Linked DNA regions of Homo sapiens: all the other regions are linked to region 6. Evidence: promoter capture Hi-C in 16 types of primary human blood cells and fetal thymus (Javierre and others, 2016). All regions are on one chromosome and are shown on one strand. Each heading gives the region's core, a stretch centred on a gene start or on the middle of the fragment in contact. The rest is flanking DNA. Distances are from core to core; before and after follow the strand shown.

Region 1 (3,190 bases), core at 176-2,675, 830 kb after region 6:
CAAAAAATCAGTTGAACAAAGAAACAGATCCTGTGAAAAGCCCTCCTCTTCCTGAACACCAGAAAATACCCTGCAATTCAGCAGAACCAAAATCCATACCTGCCCTTTCAATGGAAACACAGAAACTTGGTTCAGTTTTGTCTCCAGAATCGCCAAAACCTACTCCTCTTACTCCCCTGGAGCCTCAGAAACCTGGCTCTGTTGTTTCTCCTGAGCTACAGACACCTCTTCCTTCTCCTGAGCCTTCAAAACCTGCCTCTGTTTCTTCTCCTGAACCTCCAAAATCAGTCCCTGTTTGTGAGTCTCAGAAACTTGCCCCTGTTCCTTCTCCAGAACCACAGAAACCTGCCCCTGTATCTCCTGAGTCAGTAAAGGCTACTCTTAGTAATCCCAAACCCCAGAAGCAGTCTCATTTCCCGGAAACATTGGGGCCACCTTCAGCCTCATCTCCAGAGTCACCAGTTCTAGCTGCTTCCCCAGAACCTTGGGGACCATCCCCAGCTGCATCTCCAGAATCTCGGAAGTCAGCCCGGACTACCTCCCCTGAGCCAAGGAAGCCATCCCCTTCAGAGTCTCCTGAACCTTGGAAGCCGTTCCCTGCTGTCTCCCCAGAGCCTAGGAGACCAGCCCCCGCTGTGTCACCAGGCTCTTGGAAACCAGGGCCACCTGGGTCCCCTAGGCCTTGGAAATCCAATCCTTCAGCATCATCAGGACCTTGGAAGCCAGCTAAACCTGCTCCATCTGTGTCTCCTGGACCTTGGAAACCAATTCCTTCTGTATCTCCTGGACCTTGGAAACCAACTCCATCTGTGTCTTCTGCATCCTGGAAATCTTCATCAGTCTCACCCAGCTCCTGGAAGTCTCCCCCTGCATCTCCTGAGTCATGGAAGTCTGGCCCACCAGAACTCCGAAAGACAGCTCCCACGTTGTCTCCTGAACATTGGAAGGCAGTTCCCCCAGTGTCTCCAGAGCTTCGCAAACCCGGCCCACCACTATCCCCAGAGATCCGTAGTCCAGCAGGATCTCCAGAGCTCAGAAAACCCTCAGGGTCACCAGATCTTTGGAAGCTTTCTCCTGATCAGCGGAAAACTTCTCCTGCTTCACTTGATTTCCCTGAGTCCCAGAAAAGTTCCCGTGGTGGTTCTCCTGATCTCTGGAAGTCTTCCTTTTTTATTGAGCCTCAGAAACCTGTCTTCCCTGAGACCCGAAAACCAGGTCCTTCTGGGCCATCTGAGTCCCCCAAAGCAGCCTCAGATATCTGGAAGCCTGTTCTCTCTATCGATACTGAGCCTAGAAAACCTGCCCTGTTTCCCGAGCCTGCCAAAACAGCCCCTCCTGCTTCTCCAGAAGCACGCAAACGTGCCCTTTTTCCAGAGCCCCGGAAGCATGCCCTTTTCCCTGAACTCCCCAAATCTGCTCTATTCTCAGAATCACAGAAGGCTGTTGAGCTTGGTGATGAACTACAAATAGATGCCATAGATGATCAAAAATGTGATATTTTGGTTCAGGAAGAACTTCTAGCTTCACCTAAGAAACTCTTAGAAGATACTTTATTTCCTTCCTCAAAGAAGCTCAAGAAAGACAACCAAGAGAGCTCAGACGCTGAGCTTAGTAGTAGTGAGTACATAAAAACAGATTTGGATGCGATGGATATTAAGGGCCAGGAATCAAGCAGTGATCAAGAGCAGGTTGATGTGGAATCCATTGATTTTAGCAAAGAGAACAAAATGGACATGACTAGTCCAGAGCAGTCTAGAAATGTGCTACAGTTTACTGAAGAAAAAGAAGCTTTTATCTCTGAAGAGGAGATTGCAAAATACATGAAGCGTGGAAAAGGAAAGTATTATTGCAAAATTTGTTGCTGTCGTGCTATGAAAAAAGGTGCTGTTTTGCATCATTTGGTTAATAAGCATAATGTTCATAGCCCTTACAAATGCACAATCTGTGGAAAGGCTTTTCTTTTGGAATCTCTCCTTAAAAATCATGTAGCAGCCCATGGGCAAAGTTTACTTAAATGTCCACGTTGTAATTTTGAATCAAATTTCCCAAGAGGTTTTAAGAAACATTTAACTCATTGTCAAAGCCGGCATAATGAAGAGGCAAATAAAAAGCTAATGGAAGCTCTTGAACCGCCACTGGAGGAGCAGCAAATTTGATAACACAGTGTGAATATTTGTTCTACAAAGGTGTTTGTTGGAACCATTCTTTGTAAGTATAGCTTATCAGATAGCATAGTTGGATCAGTAGATGACATGTATGGTGTACCGTGTTTCACTGTCTCAGTTGTGTTACTAAGAATGAGCATTTGATCATTTTTTTCTGGTCTCTGTCTATGTGACTATCTTGTAAGTCAATAAATTTCTGTATAGTCCAGATGGATTAAACTTCTCATTTCTTTTAAATATGTATGAATAATAATACAAGGAAGTAGGCATTCCATTTAATAATCAAGAGCAAGTTGTACTCAAAGCATTCAGTTAAAGTGTATCTGTGTGTGGAACTAATTTCAGACAATAGAAAATATTAGTTGAAATGTTTAAGAATTAGGCATGAAAAATAAATTTGAGAAATTTTGTTTCCTTACATGTATTTTTAAATCATAAGAGTTATTTTCTATCTGATGTAAAATTAGTTTATAAATCTTAATCAGCTTCTAGATGTTTATTAGCTTTTATGTCATGAAATGTTGGAGTCTCAGGGTTGCTGATTTTCTGCTAATGGGAAAAATTGACTAAGTCTTTAAAATAGTTTGCAGCCTTCTCCCACAGGAGACAAGTGAAAGATAAGTGTGATTTTAGATCTTTCTTGTCCATAGTTGTTTTCAGTGGAGTCTTCCATTCTGTATCTTACCCTAAGATCTGGTTCTTCCCTCCCCATCCCCACCCCCCACCCACCGCCTGCCAGCTCACACTAATAGATGATTCTTAATTGCCAAATGTGTTAGAGTTTGTATATCCTACTCCTGGGCCTTACATGTCGCCTGTTGGGGCTTAAGACCAGGTTGATAAGTAGGAACTGAAAGTCTTCCAGATTCACAGTAGAAAATTTTATAGACATTTCTGTTAAAGAAATATATCGATTTTATGTTTTTCAATTATGTTACTGTAAATACCTTGTACCTGTTCATGGATTATTTTATTCTAAAATATTTTGTCAAATGTGTATCAACCAAATTAAAAAGAAAGGTTTT
Region 2 (3,247 bases), core at 570-3,069, 750 kb after region 6:
CGGACGTGGTGGCAGGCGCCTGTAATCCCAGCTACTCGGGAGGCTGAGGCAGAGAATTACTTGAACCTGGGAGGTGGAGGTTGCAGTGAGCTGAGTTCGTGCATTGCACTCCAGCCTGGACAACAGAGCAAGACTCTGTCTCAAAAAAAAAAAAAGTCATTAGGGTTTTAGGTGTATATTCCATTTCTGTTGAAATTATTTAACTTGATGCAATTTTTCTTTGTTTTTGTTTTTTTGAGGTCTCTCTGTGTCACCCAGGAGTGCAGTGGGATGATCGTGGCTCACTATAACCTCAGACTCCTGAGTTCAAGTGATCCTTCTGCCTCAGCCTCCCTAATAGCTGGGACTACAGGTGCATGCCACCACACCCAGCTAATTTTTAAATTTTTTTGGTAGAGACAGAGCCTCACTATGTTGCCCAGGCTAGTCTTGAACTCCTGGTCTCAAGCAGTCCTCCCGCCTTGGTCTCCCAAAGTGCTGGGATTATAGATGTGAGTCATCACAGTAGGCCCAGTTTTTTTTTAGTGAAAGTGAAGGGAAAATGTCTTATACCTAATCTGTCACCTTCTTTTTCCCCCATCTCCCATCTAGTCTCTAAATTCTGAAGACTGTTTTCTAAACAGCTCTGGAATCATGGATATTCCTCTTCCTCCCCACTCGTACGTGTCAGGCCTTTGATTTTTTTGTCTGTTCTGTTACAGCCTCTCTTCTTGTCTCTTTTCCCCAGTAACAGTTTCTCTCTTCTTATCTTCCCTGTCACAAGTTCATCTTGTGAACTATTACAGGAGTGAGTAGTCTTTAAAACACGGATGTGGTTATATTCCCACAAAGTCATTCAGTGACTTCCCATTAGCTGCAGGATAAAGTCAGATGCATCAGTAGGTCTGTGAGGCCCTCCTTGTTTTCTCTCCACTCTGCGTCTAATCCACCACCATCAATACCTGGAGCACGTGCTCCAGTCACGTGGTGCTGCTGTGAGCTCCTTGGACACCCAGCAGTTATTCACACTCAGGGCCTGAAGTGGAGCTGCTGCGATCTCCTTGGACGCCCAGCAGTTATTCACACTCAGTGCCTGAAGTGGAGCTGCTGTGAGCTCCTCGGACGCCCAGCAGTTATTCACACTGAGGGCCTGAAGTGGAGCTGCTGCGATCTCCTCGGACGCCCAGCAGTTATTCACACTCAGTGCCTGAAGTGGAGCTGCTGTGAGCTCCTCGGACGCCCAGCAGTTATTCACACTCAGGGCCTGAAGTGGAGCTGCTGCGATCTCCTCGGATGCCCAGCAGTTATTCACACTCAGTGCCTGAAGTGGAGCTGCTGCGAGCTCCTCGGACGCCCAGCAGTTATTCACACTCAGGGCCTGAAGTGGAGCTGCTGCGAGCTCCTCGGACGCCCAGCAGTTATTCACACTCAGGGCCTGAAGTGGAGCTGCTGCGATCTCCTCGGACGCCCAGCAGTTATTCACACTCAGTGCCTGAAGTGGAGCTGCTGCGATCTCCTTGGACCCCCAGCAGTTATTCACACTCAGTGCTTGAAGAGCTACCCAGTGCTCCACTCCTCTGCCTGACCACTTACTCGCTGCCTCACTTACTCGCTCTCCTGCAGATGTTTACTTCTCCACCTGGTTGATGCTTTCTGTTGCCCCGTTTCGTCATGCTTACCTGTTGTGCTTAGTTCACATCTCCCCTACTGTAACCTCCTGGGGCAGGGCCTTACTGCTTTTGAATCCTTGGTGCCTAGTAAACAGTAGGTTCATAATAAATATGGTTTAACAGGACTGGATTTTTTTTTTAACTGCAAGAGTAAAAGGAGAAATTATGAAATTAGTTCTATTTTATGCTTATGGCTTTCTTTGAAAGTGAAGATACATATTATTTTGACCACTACTTAAACAAATTAATTTCTTTCCTAGTTGTATGAAGCATGTCGTTACCTTGCAGCTAGGTGCCATGTAAGTATGCTCATAATTTCATTTTTATTTGGTTGAATAAAATGAGTGTTATGCATCTCTTAAATATGTGTGAGAATTTTAGTGATGGAGCTTAGCAGGTTAGTAAAGTATTTCATGAGGAAGTGTTCCTTTCCTTAGTCATGTTTGCTATAAAATACTGATTCTTCGTTTACCACATGCTGACATGCATGAAGAAAATTCTACTTTAGACATTTCACATTTAAATAATGGGCATAGTATATGTTATCCTTTAAAAATTCGGATCATGTGTTTCGTGTTAGAAGTCGTGAGTGATGAGCGGCACTTCTGTTTTCCACGTAGTATGCTGCAAAAGAGCACCAGCAGGCCCTTGATGTTCTTGACATGGAAGAGCCCATCAATAAAAGATTATTTGAAAAATACTTGAAGGACGAAAGTGGCTTCAAAGATCCTTCCAGCGACTGGGAAATGTCACAGTCTTCAGTAAGTAGTACTGTGAGCACAGCTCAGTAACGGCGGCGAGAATTGCCCTCATTACGTGGCAGAAACACATTATCTTCTTTTACTTATTACTATATTAAAACAATTGTGGTTGCCAATTTATTTAATTTGCCCACCAAAACCAAAAAAGATTCTGAGACATTTCTGAGCCCTTAGTTGCAAGCTGTAATTGTATCCGCAGATGCCTGCATCCAAAATAGGCTGGCTTGAAACTTCCTTCTCATATTTGATGCCTTAAGCTACTCCCTAAAAGTGGAATAATTTTTCTTCTCCTTTCTGTGTTTCAGCAGTGTTTTGGACCTACACCAAGAAACTTTGATTAGCGTACATTGTTTCTTTCCAGGAAATGGTTTTGTGTTCTGTTTGCTTCAAAGTACATTGCTATGTAATTGTGTATATTTCAGTTTGTATACTTCATATCTCCATGAAATTGCACATTCCTTGCTGGCAGACATCATATAGTAACTTATTAAGTGACATTTACAGATCACTAATCTGGATTTAAAAAAAAAAATAAAAACTTATTGAGGTATAATTTATATGCCATGCAGTTCCCCCATTTAAACTGTATGGTTTGATTCCTTTTAGTGTATTCACAGAGCTTTGCAAACCTCACCATGGTCAATTTTAGAATATTTTTATTATTCAGAAAGAATCCCTGTAAGCCTTACCTGACCTACCAATTTCTCTTTCTTCCCACATCTTTTTTTTTTAAATTAAGACAGGGTCTTTGCTTTGTTGTCCAGGCTGGAGTGCAGTGGCACAATCACAGCTCACTGCAGCCTCAACCTCCCAAGCTCAAGTGATTCTCCCACCTCA
Region 3 (3,073 bases), core at 251-2,750, 790 kb after region 6:
ACCTGGTTGTGCCTGGTGACAGATGGGACCAGCTCTTTTCTCCATTTGGTAATTTTGGAAAATTTGGCAGAGTTAATAAAGAAATCCCCTTGGTGCAAGATTGCTACAATAAGAATCTATTATAGATGGCAGATGTGAAGTTCACAGTCCTTTTTATTATCCTAACCTAGTAACATGACTAGAGGTAAAATTAAATATTGAGTTAGATGATTGTTTAATATTTTAAAACCAGAGGGAAGACATACAAATAGATTGAGAGCAGTTTCTTTCTAAAGATAATCAGAATATATCTCCTATATTTTAAACACTGCAGGAACAGTCAAAATTTTAAAATAAATGGTTTCCACATTTTTTTATCCCCATCTCTCCCCCTGACTATATAGTAAAATATTTTATTTGGCAACCACGTTTTCCTACTTTTAATCACACATCATCAGAGCTTTTCATCAGCCTAACTAGTCTTCCTACTCACTGAGTTGTGACGAAAGCCTGGTCTAGGCACTTTTACCACGGCCATGTTTTTGTTAAGATCCCTGCAGACTGTGAACTATGAAAACCAGCCCCTGGCCCCGCTTGTGGGTGCTGCAGAGCCGCGTGTGAACTGCTCCTAGGAAACCGCGTCTCTGGGCAGGGTGGCTCTCGGGCCGTGGATCCGCCTAAAAGCTTTTCTGCCAGTGACGCCCTTGGTCTCTGGATGTGTTCACGCCTCAGTGATTTTACTCTCTGGTTTCTTGTGTGTGCTTGAGATTCTTGAGAGAAAGCGTGCTGCAGATGAAAAATGCAGCCTACATGAAAAAGAGAAGGGGAAAGCCATTTTAAAATAACTTCCATGTAAGTTACTGTAATCAAAGTGCTGCTGCCTGTGTGTTCATAAAAAAATATGTGCAAGGGCCCGGAGCGGTGGCTCATGCCTGTAATCCCAGCACTTTGGGAGGCCGAGGTGGGCGGATCACTTGAGGTCAGGAGTTACCGAGACCATCCTGGCCAACAAGGTGAAACCCCGTCTCTACTTTAAAAAAACAAAAAAATTAGCCAGGGGTGGTGGCGCGTGCCTGTAGGTCCCAGCCACTCAGGAGGCTGAGGCAGAGGCTGCAGTGAGCCGAGATCGCGCCACTGCACTCCGGTCTGGGCGACAGAGCGAGACTGTCTCCAAAAAAATTAAGAATTCAAATGTGAACCCGGCTTTCATGGCGCCCCGGCCACGGAGAGCCTGGGGGAGTGGGATAAAAACGGTGCTGGGATGGGAGGGCGGCTTGTCCGCGAACTCCTCCCACCACGCCCGGACCAAAGCCGCCGGCGCCCCGCTTCCGGGGCCGCCCTAAACCGCGGCCGCCGCTCCCTGAGGGGCCGCCTGACCCGGCGGAAAGCCAGGCTGTGTGGCCGGAGGTCACCACCCCGACCCCGACTAGTCCCGCAGCGCCTGACCCCTTCGTGGGCGGCCCCGACCGCCGCGGCTCGAGGAGGGGCGGGGCTGGGGCGGCCGAGCTCTCGCGAGGTTTCGTCGGGGGCTGGCGGCTGCGGCTCGGCGGAGAGTGCGGCATGCGCTCGGAAAAGGAGGGGGCCGGAGGCCTTCGGGCGGCCGTTGCCGCGCGGGGCCCGAGCGGGAGGGAGAAGCTGTCGGCCCTAGAAGTGCAGTTCCACCGCGACTCGCAGCAGCAGGAGGCTGAGACGCCGCCAACTTCGTCCTCCGGTTGCGGGGGCGGTGCGGGCAAACCTCGCGAGGAGAAGAGGACGGCCCTGAGCAAGGTGGGGACGGGGGCGGGGCGCGCAAACCTCGCGAGGAGAGGACGGCCCTGAGTGGAGGGAGGGGAGGGAGGGGAGGGAGGGGCGGGGGCCGGGCCTCCCAGCGCGGTACGCGGTGCCTTTTGAGCTCCTTGTCCACGCTCCGCCCCGGTGGGAACGGCCGCGCGCTCCCCGCAGGTGGTCATCCGCCGCCTGCCTCCGGGCCTCACCAAGGAGCAGCTGGAGGAGCAGCTGCGCCCGCTGCCAGCACACGACTACTTCGAGTTCTTCGCCGCCGACCTGAGGTGAGGCCCGCCCCGAGGGGAGGAAGAGAGGGCGGAACCCAGAGCTCGGCGGCGGTGGCCGTCTCGTTGCCTTACGTTCCTTACCCTGATTTCTCCTATATGGGAGTCGTGTGAGCTTTTTGAATAAATACATTTCAGTAAAACGTGTCCGTTCCGTCAAAGAAAAATACCACCAACAAAGAAACACAGATGTGGTTTACATGAAAAATGCGGATGATTTTCAGACGGCTAACGCTTAGGAAAGCGGGTGCCTTTGAAAGGACCAGCGTTGCCCGCCCGGCGCCTCCCGGGCTTCCCTGCTCGTCCGCGGACGGGGCGCTGCGGGGCCGGGGGGCGCCGGCTCTTCCTGTGGCCTCCACGCTGGTGCCGCAGCCAGTGCGGTTTTAAATACCGGAGAAGGTCCCCAAGTCAGGAGAGTCTCTCGGCGCCACGGGTTCCTCTGGGAGTGCGCCCTGGCCTTGCCTTAGGGTTTCAGCCTCGGAGGACCGGTTCTGGGCAGTGGAGAAGGGACCTGAGTTCTGCCTTGTAAAGTTAACGTTTTGCGTTTGTTTTTGCTAAAGAATATCCAAGTTGTTACAATTAACTGAGATGATTTGGCACAAAAGTTTTATCTAAAGTAGTTTGTTGTGCCCAGAAAAGGAAAAAGAGGCTAAATTAATGGACTATTGTATTTTTCACTGACCATTTTCACTGTTATCTCTTATTTCAGTCTTTATCCTCATCTCTACTCAAGAGCATACATTAATTTTAGGAATCCTGATGACATCCTTCTTTTTAGAGATCGTTTTGATGGATATATCTTCCTTGACAGCAAAGGTTGGATTATTGGTTTTTAAAAATCTATTATAATCTGTAGGTATACTAATGAAGTATTGCTAGAATATTCGTGCTTTTTAAATTATTATTATTTTTTGAGACAGGGTCTTGCTCTGTTGCCCAGGCTGGAGTGCAGCAGCCGCAATCACGGCTCACTGCAGCCTCACACTGCGGCTCAAGCAATCCTCCAGCCTCCTAGGTAGCAGGGACCACAGGCGTGTGCCACCATG
Region 4 (3,144 bases), core at 367-2,866, 630 kb after region 6:
GGCCCCGAGTGAGGGACGCAGCTAGGAAGGGGGTCTCCGGCAGGTCGGCCCCAGCCCTGACTCCAGGCCTGTGCATCTCACTGCTGCCCAAAGCAAGGACCACTGGCTGCCATGACAGCTGCCACAGTGCTGAGCAGGCCCAGCCAACGCTGCATGAGAAAGGGCTCTAGGAAGGAAAAGGCCGCGGCAGCACCCAGCCTCCTTTCTGAGGAAGCGATTCCACGAGCCACAAAAGCGCCTGGGCTGTGGTCATCAGAGTCCACCACAAGACAACCTTCCTGGGTCCCTACACCCTGGACACACCTTCGGTGCGTGCCCGGCATGGAGACGCTCCTGCTGCCGGCATGGCTTTGGGGACAGCACTTTGCTCCTGGAGCCTCAGAGGAGGGGGGCCGGAAACATGTGTCCTGCACAGTCACCACCGGACGCCGAGGTGGCCGCCCCAGCAGGGGCCATGGGCTGAGGCTGGTCCTCAGGCTCCCAGAGCAATGGCTGCTCTGGGGAAGAGAAAACACAGAAGTGACAAGATCAAGGCAAACTAGCTGCTCCAGCACCTCGAGGGTTTGGAACCAAAACAAGAAATCTCCAGAGCTGAAAAGAAGAGTGAAACCTTTTCCTTCAGAAGGAACACAGCTAAAGAGAAGATTTAGGGGTGCACGCAAGGGCCCTCAGGTACTCTGTGCAGCCCCTCAAAGCAGGGAAAAGGCCAGGAATGAAACCTAACGCAGAAATGGGAACTGGCTCCAACGCCACACGAACAGCCAGCCTGGGTCTATCGCGCCCAGTTCAGACCCGGGCTGCAGCTTGGAGACGATGACGTCCAAAAACCAAGCTCCAGGAAGACACAACAACAATCACCCTTAGGCTTTGTCAGGCATCCCAGAGAATCCTCCGTCCTACCCTGGGCACGCCATGCGCACCAGGCAGGGAGGGTGGCTCTCAGCAAGGGGCTGAGGACTCTGGCCCATCCTGGGGCGAGGGAGGCACCCACGGGGTGGGCCATGCGGGGCTGGGAGCCACGGCCCCCATGCAGGTCCTAAGTGGACATCTGTCTGGTCGGTGGTCAGAAAAAGGATCCCCACGGTGTCTAGGAAAGACTCAGACCTCTTACCAACCTCTGGAATTTTATCCTATGGGCAGTCAGGGCCAAGACAGATGATTCTTTACAGGTTGGAAATTATTCGGATAACATAAAAGAAACAATGTAAAGAGGAAAGAACAGGTGCAGGAGTCGTTCCTCGATCAATTCCAGGTCAAGGCACCGGTTTCGGTCCCCAGTGCGGCTCCTGTCTCCTGACCCAGCCCCCCGGCCCAGCCCCCAGAAGCCCGGCACGGTGTCTCTCGGGACCCAGGACACGCAGGTCAGCGCTGCAGCCGTTACTGGCTGTGTTGTGATACCAGCAGGGCACTGACTGTCCCCAGAAGGAACAAAACTGAGACTTAAATTTGGGTGATTGTTCCAAATGTGGGATTCAAGCTTATTTGAAAACGAAAACTAAGAATGCCAAATTTCAGGGTGGCTAGAGCTACAGCCCCAGGAATCCAGCCCTGTCTGCAGAAACACACCTAATATTTTCAGACACTCATAGAACAAGGAACTACTATTTTTGAGAAAATACTCACAGAAAAACAAAATCTCCCAGACACTCTGATGCCGTTTGACCAATAACCCATGGGGAAACTCACTTCCGGGGATCCAGGCCCGACGAGGGCGTTCCCGGGCACCTCGGTGACTCTGAAACTCATATCTACAGCAAAGCTTGAACGTTTGTAACTGTTCACTTTGGACTCTGCGTCACACCCAGAGAGACCCTGAACCATCTGTCACAGGTGACGTAACCCTCAGTTCCCCTTCACCTGTGCCAGAGCCTCCCAGACACAAAGGCTGGAGCCCCAAAACCTGTCAGGGGCCTCTCAGGGGCCAGCCACAACTCACTCCGCCTGTCACTGCTGGACGCCCGCTGCGGCCTGACGGAGCCGCTCCTTCACCTGTCCACATGCATTTCCCACACAGCACATTGTCTTGAATGAAGGCAAGTTATTTTCTTTCTCGGCCTTGGCGTCCTCCACAGCCGACACTGTTCTTGCAATCTGTGAAGGGATGATTTCTAAGCTCCGCCTTTGTTCTTCACTCACTCACCCACCGTATACATAGTTGCACATTGATGCATAATAGACATATACTTGCTGCTACGGAAGGCCTTGTATTCCTGTCTCTCTTCCTACCACAGCACTCCTGCCATCCCACAGGTAATCCAATTAGCAGGCTGTGTGGGTCTTATCCCTGATCTGCGCACACTCATCTGATCTGTGTTTATCATTCTTCTAGGGGGTGGTGTTGGGCGCTCTCATTTTGCTTCTTTTGAATCTTATGCCGTGGAACTTCCTGCGAGTCATGTGGTTTGGCCTGGGCTTAATATGTTCCTTGAAAGCCACAGAGCAGCCCACATGTGGATGCACATGACATAATCACCGTTTCAGTTGGCGATTACTCATTGGGCTGTTCTTGCATTGCTATAAAGAAACACCTGAGACTGGGTAATTCAAAATAAACGAGGTTTATTGGTCACGGTGCTGCAAGCCGTACAGGAAGTATGGAGGCATCTGCTTCTGGGGAGGCCTCGGGAAGCTTCCAGTCATGGCAGAAGGTGAAGGGGGAGCAGGTGTCTCACACGGCGAGAGCGGGGGCAAGAGCGCGAGGTGGGAGGTGTGCCACCGGATCTCACGAGAACTCACTCACTATCGTGAGAACAGCACCAAGGGGATAGCGCTGAGCTGTTCATATAAATCCACCCTCAAGATCCAGTCGCTTCCCACCAGGCCCCACTTCCAACGACGGGGTGACAGTTCGACAGGAGATTGGTGGGGAGACCCCAACTCCTCAACATTGCTTCTACTGTTTGCTATTTGCTCACTCAGCCACTGGCCACAGGTGCTGCTGCAGTAGACACGTCTGTTCATCGCCTTCACCTATGGTTCAAAGCTAGAAGCTCTGGTTGCACGGCAAGCCCCTCCTTTCCTGCGTGAACACAGACCCCTGCTCTGACCCGCGGCTGCGTAAGACGAGACGCGCTCAGTGAGCTGCCTCCCCGACCCCCACCACAGTTCCACAACGGCTGTCCAACCTCGCACCCTCCAGAGGTA
Region 5 (2,828 bases), core at 292-2,791, 520 kb before region 6:
GCTTCTGCCTCGGCCTCCGGAGTAGCTGGGACTACAGGCCTGAAATACTGTTTCTTTAAGGAAGGGCATGTTACCTATAATACCAAACCACAAAAGGATAGCTGCGGTTTTGGGCGAGGAGAGCTCAGAGAGTTTCTTGCATATGGCCCTGTGATGGCGGCCATGGCCCTGCATAGACACGAGCTGGAATCTGCAGGTGGCAGCCAGGACGCTGCGTGTGTCGAGTGCACAGTGTGGCTTGGTGCCAACCATGGCGAGGGTGGAGAGCCCCGTGCCTGCAGCGCGCGCTTCCCTCACTGGGTCCTGCGTCCTTGGGCAGGCGATGCCCCTGCGGGGAGGGGCTGGTCCATCCCCGGCCAGCCACGGACCCACGCATGGACCCAGCGACCCACGGACCTGCTTACCTGGGCGCGGCGCGGGTGGCATGCGGCCACACGGAAGGGGCGCGCTGGGCTGCTGCGGCCTCTGCAGCTTCTACACCTGCCACGGGGCGGCCGGAGGTAAAGGGAGGCGGCGGCCAGGCGCGGCCCCGCGGAGGCAGCTGCACTCGCTCGGTCCACTCGCGGCTTCGCGGCTGCCCGCAAACCAGGAGGGCGTGGAGACCCGGAACCGGGGGGAAGGGCGGGGGCACTTGTGCGGCACCCGCGGGGCTCCCAGGGGACCTCGGCGGTGACACGAATTTCTAGGTGACCTTGGCGGTGACACGAATTTCTAGGTGACCTGTGTGATACACTAGGTGACCTAGTGACACAGGTGACACTTCCAGGTGACCGCGGCGGTGACCCGCGGGGCTCCCAGGTGACCTCGTTGGTGAGCCCCGGGGCTCCCCGACGACCGCGGCGGTGACACGCGGGGCTCCCAGGTGACCCCGGCGGTGCACTCACAGGACTCCCAGGTGACCCGCGGTGGTGACACACCGGGGCGGGCGCGCGCCGCTTCCGCTTCCGCCGAGCCGCCCCCCGCCCCCCGCGGCGCAGCGCGCGCCCCCCTCCCGGTGGCGCGGAACCAATCCTGGGCAGGGAGGCGGCGGCTGGAGGCTGAAAGCGCTGCCGTGGCCCCCTCCCCGCCTCCGCCGCGCCCCCTCCGCACTCGCACGGCCCCACCCGCAGGCGCCCCCCGTGCGGAGGAAGCGGATCTGCCAGGATCATTTTTGTTGTGTCGGAGGATGAGGTTTTGGCTGAGGACTGAAGAGATGGCCTTGGAAGAAATGGTGCAGAGATTAAATGCGGTTTCCAAGCACACGGGTAGGAGGAGCTGCTGGCCGTCAGTGATCTGTGCTTAAGCTTGACATCATGGGCTGAAATGTGGGGAAATGCGTCTGATTTTTGTAAGCCGCCCTCGTGTTCCTTTCTAGCCGTGGTAGCTGTGACATGGGGGGCACTGGTTGGCAGCTGGTGTGTTTTCAGAGGCTGTCGGCGATCGTATGCTGCCCGGGATAGTCAAAATGACTGCACGTTGGTGACACTGGCTCTCTCAGGGTTGCTGGGTCTGCATGCGGAGCCATTTGTGTGTCTGAAGTCTGCCCATCAACCTGCCTGTCCGCAGCCCTCGCAATGGAGAATGCATTGCGAATGGAGAATGATCTGAGCCAAGGGCTTTCAGAGCTTGGGGTTTCAGAGCCAGGGGTAGGGATGGTGAAGCTACCTGGAAGCTCGTTTTGAGGATGAAAAAACCTGGACTAATCAGGTGGTTCTTTTCTTCATTAAATGCAATTTAAACCTAAGACAGATGTTTGAGACGGTATGGGTAAAGAGTGGACTGGACGTTCATTTTCAGTATTAATCGAAATATTACTTCAAATAAGCTTTGAAGAGTAGTTCAGATCGATTCTTTTAGGTGTAAGCAGAGACTGGGCTGACAGCTTGCATCTGGCCGTGGCTTTCAGGCGGTCGCATCTGAGTTCTCAGGCTGTGTTATGCAGAAGGGAGAGGCATCCTTAACTCGTTTTCCTTGAAATGAAGAGGAAATAATGATATATCATTAAAAGTAAGTTGCCAAGTGTTTTGCCTGATGTTGCCATATGTTATGTCATATATGCCATTACTAGTTGTCTAACTAGTACTTGCCTGGGAGATTAAAATGTCAGTTGCTTGGTTTGGGTGTGGTTCTCTTTCTCTGCCCACCCCGATGGATTCTGAGAGTGAACCAGTGATTAAATCAGCATAAGCACCATCGTATGGGATGGTCTAATCAAGATGTTTTTAATGGGGGCTTTTATGATCAAAGCTGCTGGGTTTATTGTATGTGGGTCGAAAGAAAACAAAACCATTTTCATGCCGTCTGCTCCCTGATTCTTAGAGAATCAGCTCTTTTTCTGAAGCTTGAGTGGAGCTTTTCCGTGCAGGGTTTGCAGGGTTTGAGTATGGTGAAGGGCTGCGTGGATGCCAGGTTCACAGGGAGGCTTCCGATCGGCTGTGGGGGTGGAGGAGAAAGCCCCCCTTGCTCTGCATGCCTCTGCGTGCCGTTCGGTGTCAGAGTCACAGAGTGGGAACCGCTCCAGAGGCTGATGTCATTCCCCAGGTTTTTAGGGATTGGGGTTTCTTCATGAGCTCCAAGAGACATGTGCGCATTTTTAATTGGAAAAAGGCTATCTCAGAAGAGCAGCAGTGACACTGTCTGCTCACTGAATGTCGTGCGAGCCGGGCGCTCGGTGTGGGCCATCGTCTCATCTGGAACAGGCAGTGAGATGTGCGTCCTCCCACACATCTGCATTACCGATAATTGCATGCTTCACCAGGACTTTCAAGTCCAGCTTACCAGATATCCTCGGTTATGAGCACCCTGTAGCGTTTAGTTAGGGGAGGTGACCCTGCATCATACTCCACTTA
Region 6 (2,870 bases), core at 370-2,869:
GGGGCTGGCGGGCCAATCATGTTGATCGAATAAACTACGTAAGTTTATGGATCACTTTCACTCTGTTTCGGTATACAGCACGCTAGAGGGAGGGGGAGTTAAATTCATCCCTGCTCTTGGATCTCCAACCTCGGCAGCAGTGGAACGCTCCTCTCCAGCATCCTGAACATGTTCAAGTTTTCCCCAAACTAAGTTCCTGTCCACTCTGCCCCTGTCCTCCTAAAAGCTGGAGCAAGCTATCTCTACCTGCCCAGGTGTGCATCCTAACTCAGGCTACCTGGCTCCAGCCCGGCCTCCGCAGTGACCCCTAAAGGTCACAAAAGCTCGGCTGCTGCGGTCAGTGGGATCTTTTCAGCTGCTCTTTTGTTCAGCACTGCTGATGGCTCCCTCCTCCTTTAAACTCCATCCTCTTGGTTTCGACACATTCTAGTGTCCTGGTTTCTCCTACCAGCCCCCTCTCAGTCTCCTTTGTGGCTCTTCTCCCATCCTGAAGCTTGTCCTCACCCTCCACTCCCCTCTACACGTTACCGTGTCCCTTCTCCGGTGGCTCTCTGTGCCTTAGCCAGGACAATCTTTCAGCTCCTATACGTCATCATCGCCTACCACTAAGGGTCTGTGCATTCTGTTTCTTCTGCCTGGAGCCGCACACGGCTGGCTGCCCCGGAACCTCACTTTTTCTCTGGCTAATTTCCAGAGAAATTCTCCACAGTTCAACTCACACCCTCAGCATCTGACACCACTCCCACAGCCGCATCCTACAAGTTCCTGGAACCCGTGCCTTAGCCTTTGTCCCAACTGTGGTCAAACAATTGTGCATCTGGTGCCTGTCTCCCCTGCTGGGGCATCAACTCCCTCAACGCCAAGATCATGCCTGGCCCAGCACCAGTCACACCCAGCAGCACCTTGCTGGCCTCTGAACCGATGTGGACTGAATAAATCCCATCCATCACCATTTCCACCACATTTCAAAGTAACTGATGTGCACCTCCAGCAGCCTCCCTCCTGCGCTGCGGAACTCTACCAGCTCCACAGATGCACACCTACAGCCACGCTACAGCTCCCGGCTAGAGCCCGCGCTAGGGCCCCGCTGTGCCTCTCCCTCCCCTCCCGGCAGCAGGGCCTCCCCCGCGAATCTGAGCTTCTCGCGGATTCCTTCCTTGCGCTGTTTTGGTCAACAGCCTCAGCATCTGCACAGACGCCCGCAGGAGCAGCCGAGCCCTCGCCCGCCTCGACTGCCCGTTTCGAAGCCGCCCTGGGAAGCCCCCGGCCTGGGTTCCCGCTCGGCCCCGGCCCCTGCCCCAAGGCCCCTACAGTTCCTCCCGGCCCCCGCCCTCCGCTCACTCCCGGTCGTCCCTCGCGGCTCCGGGTCAAACCCGCGCTCCCCGCGGTCCCGCGCCTCCGACGCCACCGCTCCGGCTCGCGGGCCCGCGGCGCGTTCCTCCCTCGGATCCACGCGGAACGCCCCGCGCAGCTCGCTGGGCTCGGCCTCCCACATCCAGCGCGCCGCCTGCGCCGACCTTGGGGCCCGACCCCGACCCCGACCCCGACGGGCAGAGGCGACGCCGGGCCACCTACCATCTCCCCCGCGCCGCCCGCTTCTGGCCGGCCCCGGCCTTCTGCGCAGGCGCGGCGGCGGCTCCGCCCTCGTCCTCGGACGGCCGCGGCCCTCGGCTCCGGGGCAGTGCCGGGAGCCGGCCGCGGGGACTCCCACTCCCGGCATGCTCAGCGCCGCCCGGGGGCCCACGGGAGCTCGCGCCCCACAGCCCCTGCGCGTCCAGCCCTCTGCGAGGGCCTTGGCTCGCCCCTGCGGGGTCCAACGCCAGCCTGCGGCTGCCAGGCCCCACGCCGGCCAGGAAGTGCTCGCCGCCCGCGGCCGACGGGACCCGCCCACGCCCCGCCTCTTAAAGGGGGCAGTGACTGCGGCTGGGCGGGAGTCCGGGTCGGCTTGGCTGAGCGGGGGCGGTGCTGGGCAGGGCGGCGGCCGCTCCCTCCCGGACTCCCGGCCTCCCGGCCTCCCTGGTCCCGCCTGGGAAGGGATGCAAGGAAGCCCTCCGGCGCTGCGCTCCGAGGCGGGAGACAGCGTCCCCCTCCGCCCCTCGGGTCCTGGCGCCTCAGAGCCCGGCCCAGGCCGCGGAACGGTGATGCTCGGGCCGGACGGGCGGGCGCGGATCCCTGCGTCCCGGTGAGCACCAGGCCCGTCCATCCGGGGCTCTTTCCCGGGGTCCCCTTCCTTCCCTCCCTCCCTGGGGCTCCCCTCCCCTCTCTCCCTCCCCGGGGCTCACCTTCCCTTCTTCCCTTCCCAAGGGTCCCCTTCCTTCCTTCCCTCCCTCCCTGGGGCTCCCCTCTCTCCCTCCCCGGGGCTCCCATTCCCTTCTTCCCTTCCCAGGGGTCCCCTTCCTTCCTTCCCTCCCTCCCTGGGGCTCCCCTCCTCTCTCTCCCTCCCTGGGGCTCACCTCCCCTCTCTCTCTCCTCGGGGCTCCCCTTTTCTTGCAGGTATTGTCTCCCGGGGTCGGGTGGTCTGTGTGGCCTGGGGTCCCGCTCCTCCAGGCCTTGCCTAGGCGCTCTTCGCTGAGGCCCACGTTCTAACCTGGAATGGAACCTGCGTTCCCACCCTGGCCGCCCGGGTGGACTCGGGGCCTCCAGGGCCGGCCGCAGAGATGCAGCCCTGTCCCTGGCCCCCCTCCTGTGACTCCTAACGGCTCCTCACGGTGTCCATGACCCAGGGTGTGGACGCCTGCGCGGGGGAAGCAAGACCGCTGCGTATCGGGTCCCTATTCACTGCCTGTTTTTCTGATTATTCTGTCTTCCAAATTTATCTTATTTACCGGCTTTTTCAAAAGGAGTGTCTTAATGATTGGATTACTTGTGAA
Region 7 (3,190 bases), core at 484-2,983, 560 kb after region 6:
AACATGGCAAATCCCCATCTCTACTAAAAATACAAAAATTAGCAGGGCATGGTGGTGGGCGCCTGTAGTCCCAGCTACTCGGGAGGCTGAGGCAGGAGAATCGCTTGAACCTGGGAGGCAGAGGTTGCAGTGAGCCAAGATTGCACCACTGCACTCCAGCCTGGGTGACAAGAGCAAAACTCAGTCTCAAAAAAATAATAAAAATTAAAAAAATAAAAAGTGAAAAGACAGACTAGAAAAAATATTAGTAAGTCAGTTATCTGATAAAAGACTTATATACAGAATATATAAAGAACTCTTATGACTCAATAAATGATGACAAATAATTCAGTTTAAAAAGGGGCAAAAGATTTGAACACACATATCACCAAAGACAAATGGCCAACAATGTATTAAAAATGCTCCATGTCATTAGCCCTTGAGAAAATGCAAATTAAACCAGGAGATACGGCACAGGCATAAGCCCAAACCTGGGGCGGGCGACTGTTGCTGCCCGGAGCCCAGGTGGGAGGGGCCCAGAGTCCAGGTGGGAGGGGCCCAGAGTCCAGGTGGGAGGGGTCCAGAGTCCAGGCCCCACCCCTTCTCCCTGCAGCGGCCTTAATGACAGGCATTTCATTTGGATTTCACTGATTTCAGTATTTTTATAACTGGGTCAGAGACTGGGTAACATTTACTCAGAAAACCATTTTTTGTCATAAAACAATCTTCCAAGGGAAGCCTAAAATGCCTAGGTTGTTTTAAGCATTTTGGAAACACAGCAGTATCCATTTACACACAAAAGAAACATCACTTTATCTTTCAATGAAGGCAGAATGCTCAGGGACTTCCACCGACTCCATTGTAGCAGCATCCTGGTTAATGAAGGCCCATTAGAAAGTCACGTTTCCTTTAAACACATTCTCGCGTTGGTCGTTGACGCAGCGAGCCATCCTCTGATCTCCTGCGTCTGCGTGGGCACCGCCGAGATCTGATGTCAGGGACCCCCAGGGGTGTGTGTGCCCACAGGCATGTGTGTGTGGGTGTGTGCACGTGTGTGCCCATGGGTGTGTGCACGTGTGTGCCCATGGGTGCGTGTGCCCACAGGCATGTGTGTGGGTGTGTGCATGCATGTGCCTGTACGTGTGTGCCCACAGGCACGTGTTTGTGTGTGCATGTGTGTGCCCGTATGTGTGTCCCCACAGGCAGGTGTGCATGTTCATGTGCATGTGTGTGCCCACAGGCACGTGTGCATGGGTGTGTGCATGCATGTGCCATGCATGTGCCCATACATGTGTGCTCACAGGCATGTGTGCATGTTCATGCGTGCATGCATGTGCCCTGGAGCACTTGGGTGCACATGTACACAAAGGCACCACAGATGCGCCCCACACAATGCGCTGCTTTCATAACAAGGCGCAGGGGTCGTGACCCTGCCTCCACCCTGTGTAAAGTCACAGCTGCAGGATCTCGGGGCAGGACGCACACTCCCCAGGCAGCGCCCTGTGGCCTCCCTGGAGAAGCTTGGTGCTCTGCGGACAGCGTCCCCACTGGCAGGAAAAACCACTATCAACCTCGAAGCCAAAAGGGACACCAGACGTGCATTTTAATATTCACGACAAGGCCTCAGGTGACGAGCTACTCACAGGACAAGCGTTAACAATTAATAGTAATCCACAAAACATTTGGGATTTTTACAACGACAAAACGGCCTCTTCTGTACGTCCTAGAGCAACTTTCAGGGCCACTGAGGCCTAAGTGATGGCAGGAAGCCGTGGTGTTTGAATGTGTGAAAGCAGCCTGGACTTGGCGTTTCCAGCCCCGTTCGCTCCCGGCAGAGCCCCAAGAACCAAGGGCTGGAGGCTTCACTTCCTGCTCCAGAGTGGCAGGTGCCCAGGCTGTCCTGGCTGCGGTGCATCTCACACAAGAAGCCCAGCGGGAGCACGCACAGCTCTGGGCCTTGCGGCAAATGCGTAACCAAAAGGCGTAAATCAAGCTTCGTTCACCATGGAGGAACCTCAGAACCACCGGCACCGATAGCCAAGCTGCCAGAGAATGGAACGGACGCCCTCCATTGGCACAAACTCCAGCAGCCGGCTTGTCAGGAAGCTGCAGCAGCTTCAGAGCAACCCAGGCCTCGGGGTTCACCTGGCGCGTCACCGTTTCCCGAGAGCCCCCCGCCCCCGCACAGGCACTGAGGACCCCACCACATGGGCCTGTGCCTGCCTGGCAGGAAGGCAGGGAGGAGGAAGTGGGTCGGGCTGGATTGCATGTCTGATGTGTGTCCGATGAATGTCCAGTGCGTGTCCAATGCGTGTCTGGTGAGTGGTGAGTGTCTGGTGTGTGTCTGATGTGTGTCTGATGCATATTTGGTGCGTGTCCGGTGCGTGGTGAGGGGCGGTGAGATGAGGATGCCAGCGCTAAGCACACCCCACAAACGGGCGCCGCGCACCTGGCATTTAACCCTGCACACTTCCTCACCACCCTGATGCACAGGGTGGGAAACCGAGGCACTCCAACATCTGATGAAACGAAACTAACCCCAGGGCTTGGGCAGCAGGGCTGAGAGTGCGGCGTCCCTGGGCGCTGCCCGGTAGCGGGGTGTTCAGTTGCTCTGCCAAAGGCTCTGCACAAGTGGCTCCTCTCTCTGTAACTCTGCTTGGCAGTGGGGGGCTCGGTGGGGGGAGGCCCGTGCTGGCTGGGCACCTGGGAGGGTCCCGTGAGGCTTCTGGTGGTGCTGACAGCTGTCCGTGGAAATTGAGGTGCTTAAAATTCATAAATAAACCAGAAATCCATTCAATAAAAAGAGATAAAAATAGCAGAAAGAGGAAGCTACAAGAAAACATACGAACTCCATAAAATTATCACCACAGACTGGACGTGCCCCTTTCTAAATGTAAAAGCGGTTTATAGCAACACAGCATGGCCCTGCTGCACTACCCCTGGGGAGCAAGACCTCCTCCAGCCTCCACCCAGGAATTTCTCCAGCAATGGCTTTAGAACCTTGCTCCTGAATCGCAGCAGGGGAGGCAGCGCTTTGGGGCCCTCTGTCAGGCTGCCCCCCCTGCTAAGAGGAGCTGTTGTCCTTGGGAACCACGGGTCCCCCCTCCTGAAGAAGGGGAACGTCACACTCACAGTTCCATTTTACACATTTGCAGCTGAGAACCCTGGAGCCAGAACAGGCTCCAGCACAGGCGATGGGTGAGTGTTTTGC

Evidence for each region. Contacts are between HindIII fragments. The CHiCAGO score rates a contact against its expected background, and 5 or more counts as called.
Region 1: a contact is called between a fragment that was not itself captured here and the fragment with the promoter of DCUN1D2 in region 6, in 2 of 17 cell types (M2 macrophages and neutrophils). The highest score is 5.3, in M2 macrophages.
Region 2: a contact is called between a fragment that was not itself captured here and the fragment with the promoter of DCUN1D2 in region 6, in 5 of 17 cell types (neutrophils, monocytes, erythroblasts and 2 more). The highest score is 9.0, in neutrophils.
Region 3: a contact is called between the fragment with the promoter of UPF3A here and the fragment with the promoter of DCUN1D2 in region 6, in 1 of 17 cell types (neutrophils). The highest score is 5.5, in neutrophils.
Region 4: a fragment that was not itself captured here is called in contact with the fragment with the promoter of DCUN1D2 in region 6 in 2 of 17 cell types (neutrophils and erythroblasts); the score reaches 5.1 in neutrophils.
Region 5: a fragment that was not itself captured here is called in contact with the fragment with the promoter of DCUN1D2 in region 6 in 2 of 17 cell types (non-activated CD4 T cells and naive CD8 T cells); the score reaches 6.3 in non-activated CD4 T cells.
Region 7: a fragment that was not itself captured here is called in contact with the fragment with the promoter of DCUN1D2 in region 6 in 1 of 17 cell types (neutrophils); the score reaches 6.2 in neutrophils.

What each region holds. Positions count from the first base shown.
Region 1 is chr13:114,324,126-114,327,315 of GRCh38, forward strand. It overlaps CHAMP1 (chromosome alignment maintaining phosphoprotein 1), which reads left to right. Exons shown (of 3, transcript NM_032436.4): 3 at 1-3,190. The coding sequence ends at 2,156. Among named protein-coding and RNA genes, the nearest start is that of LINC01054, 8.2 kb to the right of the region's middle. The HindIII fragment of the contact is 721 bases long and covers 1,066-1,786 here.
Region 2 is chr13:114,237,081-114,240,327 of GRCh38, forward strand. CDC16 (cell division cycle 16) reads left to right here. Exons shown (of 18, transcript NM_001078645.3): 4 at 1,910-1,948; 5 at 2,270-2,410. Among named protein-coding and RNA genes, the nearest start is that of CDC16, 3.8 kb to the left of the region's middle. The HindIII fragment of the contact is 5,477 bases long and covers 1-3,247 here.
Region 3 is chr13:114,280,101-114,283,173 of GRCh38, forward strand. It overlaps UPF3A (UPF3A regulator of nonsense mediated mRNA decay), which reads left to right and starts at 1,501. Exons shown (of 10, transcript NM_023011.4): 1 at 1,501-1,746; 2 at 1,921-2,027; 3 at 2,737-2,843. The coding sequence starts at 1,540. It overlaps LOC105370384 (a long non-coding RNA gene), which reads right to left and starts at 969. Exons shown (of 4, transcript XR_007063887.1): 1 at 3-969. RefSeq lists enhancers at 729-1,028, 1,482-2,169 and silencers at 1,249-1,518, 1,749-1,928, 2,309-2,518. The HindIII fragment of the contact is 7,060 bases long and covers 662-3,073 here.
Region 4 is chr13:114,122,748-114,125,891 of GRCh38, forward strand. All of the region lies in intron 1 of RASA3 (RAS p21 protein activator 3), which reads right to left. LOC107987192 (a long non-coding RNA gene) reads right to left here. Exons shown (of 2, transcript XR_001750050.2): 2 at 2,540-3,144. Among named protein-coding and RNA genes, the nearest start is that of RASA3, 8.3 kb to the right of the region's middle. The HindIII fragment of the contact is 282 bases long and covers 1,476-1,757 here.
Region 5 is chr13:112,968,215-112,971,042 of GRCh38, forward strand. It overlaps MCF2L (MCF.2 cell line derived transforming sequence like), which reads left to right and starts at 1,000. Exons shown (of 30, transcript NM_001112732.3): 1 at 1,000-1,244. The coding sequence starts at 1,166. It overlaps MCF2L-AS1 (MCF2L antisense RNA 1), which reads right to left and starts at 424. Exons shown (of 1, transcript NR_034002.1): 1 at 1-424. RefSeq lists an enhancer at 155-674 and a silencer at 876-935. The HindIII fragment of the contact is 521 bases long and covers 1,282-1,802 here.
Region 6 is chr13:113,489,092-113,491,961 of GRCh38, forward strand. It overlaps DCUN1D2 (defective in cullin neddylation 1 domain containing 2), which reads right to left and starts at 1,620. Exons shown (of 7, transcript NM_001014283.2): 1 at 1,576-1,620. The coding sequence starts at 1,578. SLC9D1 (solute carrier family 9 member D1) reads left to right here and starts at 1,930. Exons shown (of 13, transcript NM_017905.6): 1 at 1,930-2,182. RefSeq lists an enhancer at 791-1,090 and a silencer at 1,321-2,240. The HindIII fragment of the contact is 2,425 bases long and covers 492-2,870 here.
Region 7 is chr13:114,053,939-114,057,128 of GRCh38, forward strand. The region is part of intron 2 of RASA3 (RAS p21 protein activator 3); the gene reads right to left. Among named protein-coding and RNA genes, the nearest start is that of RASA3-IT1, 54 kb to the right of the region's middle. The HindIII fragment of the contact is 473 bases long and covers 1,498-1,970 here.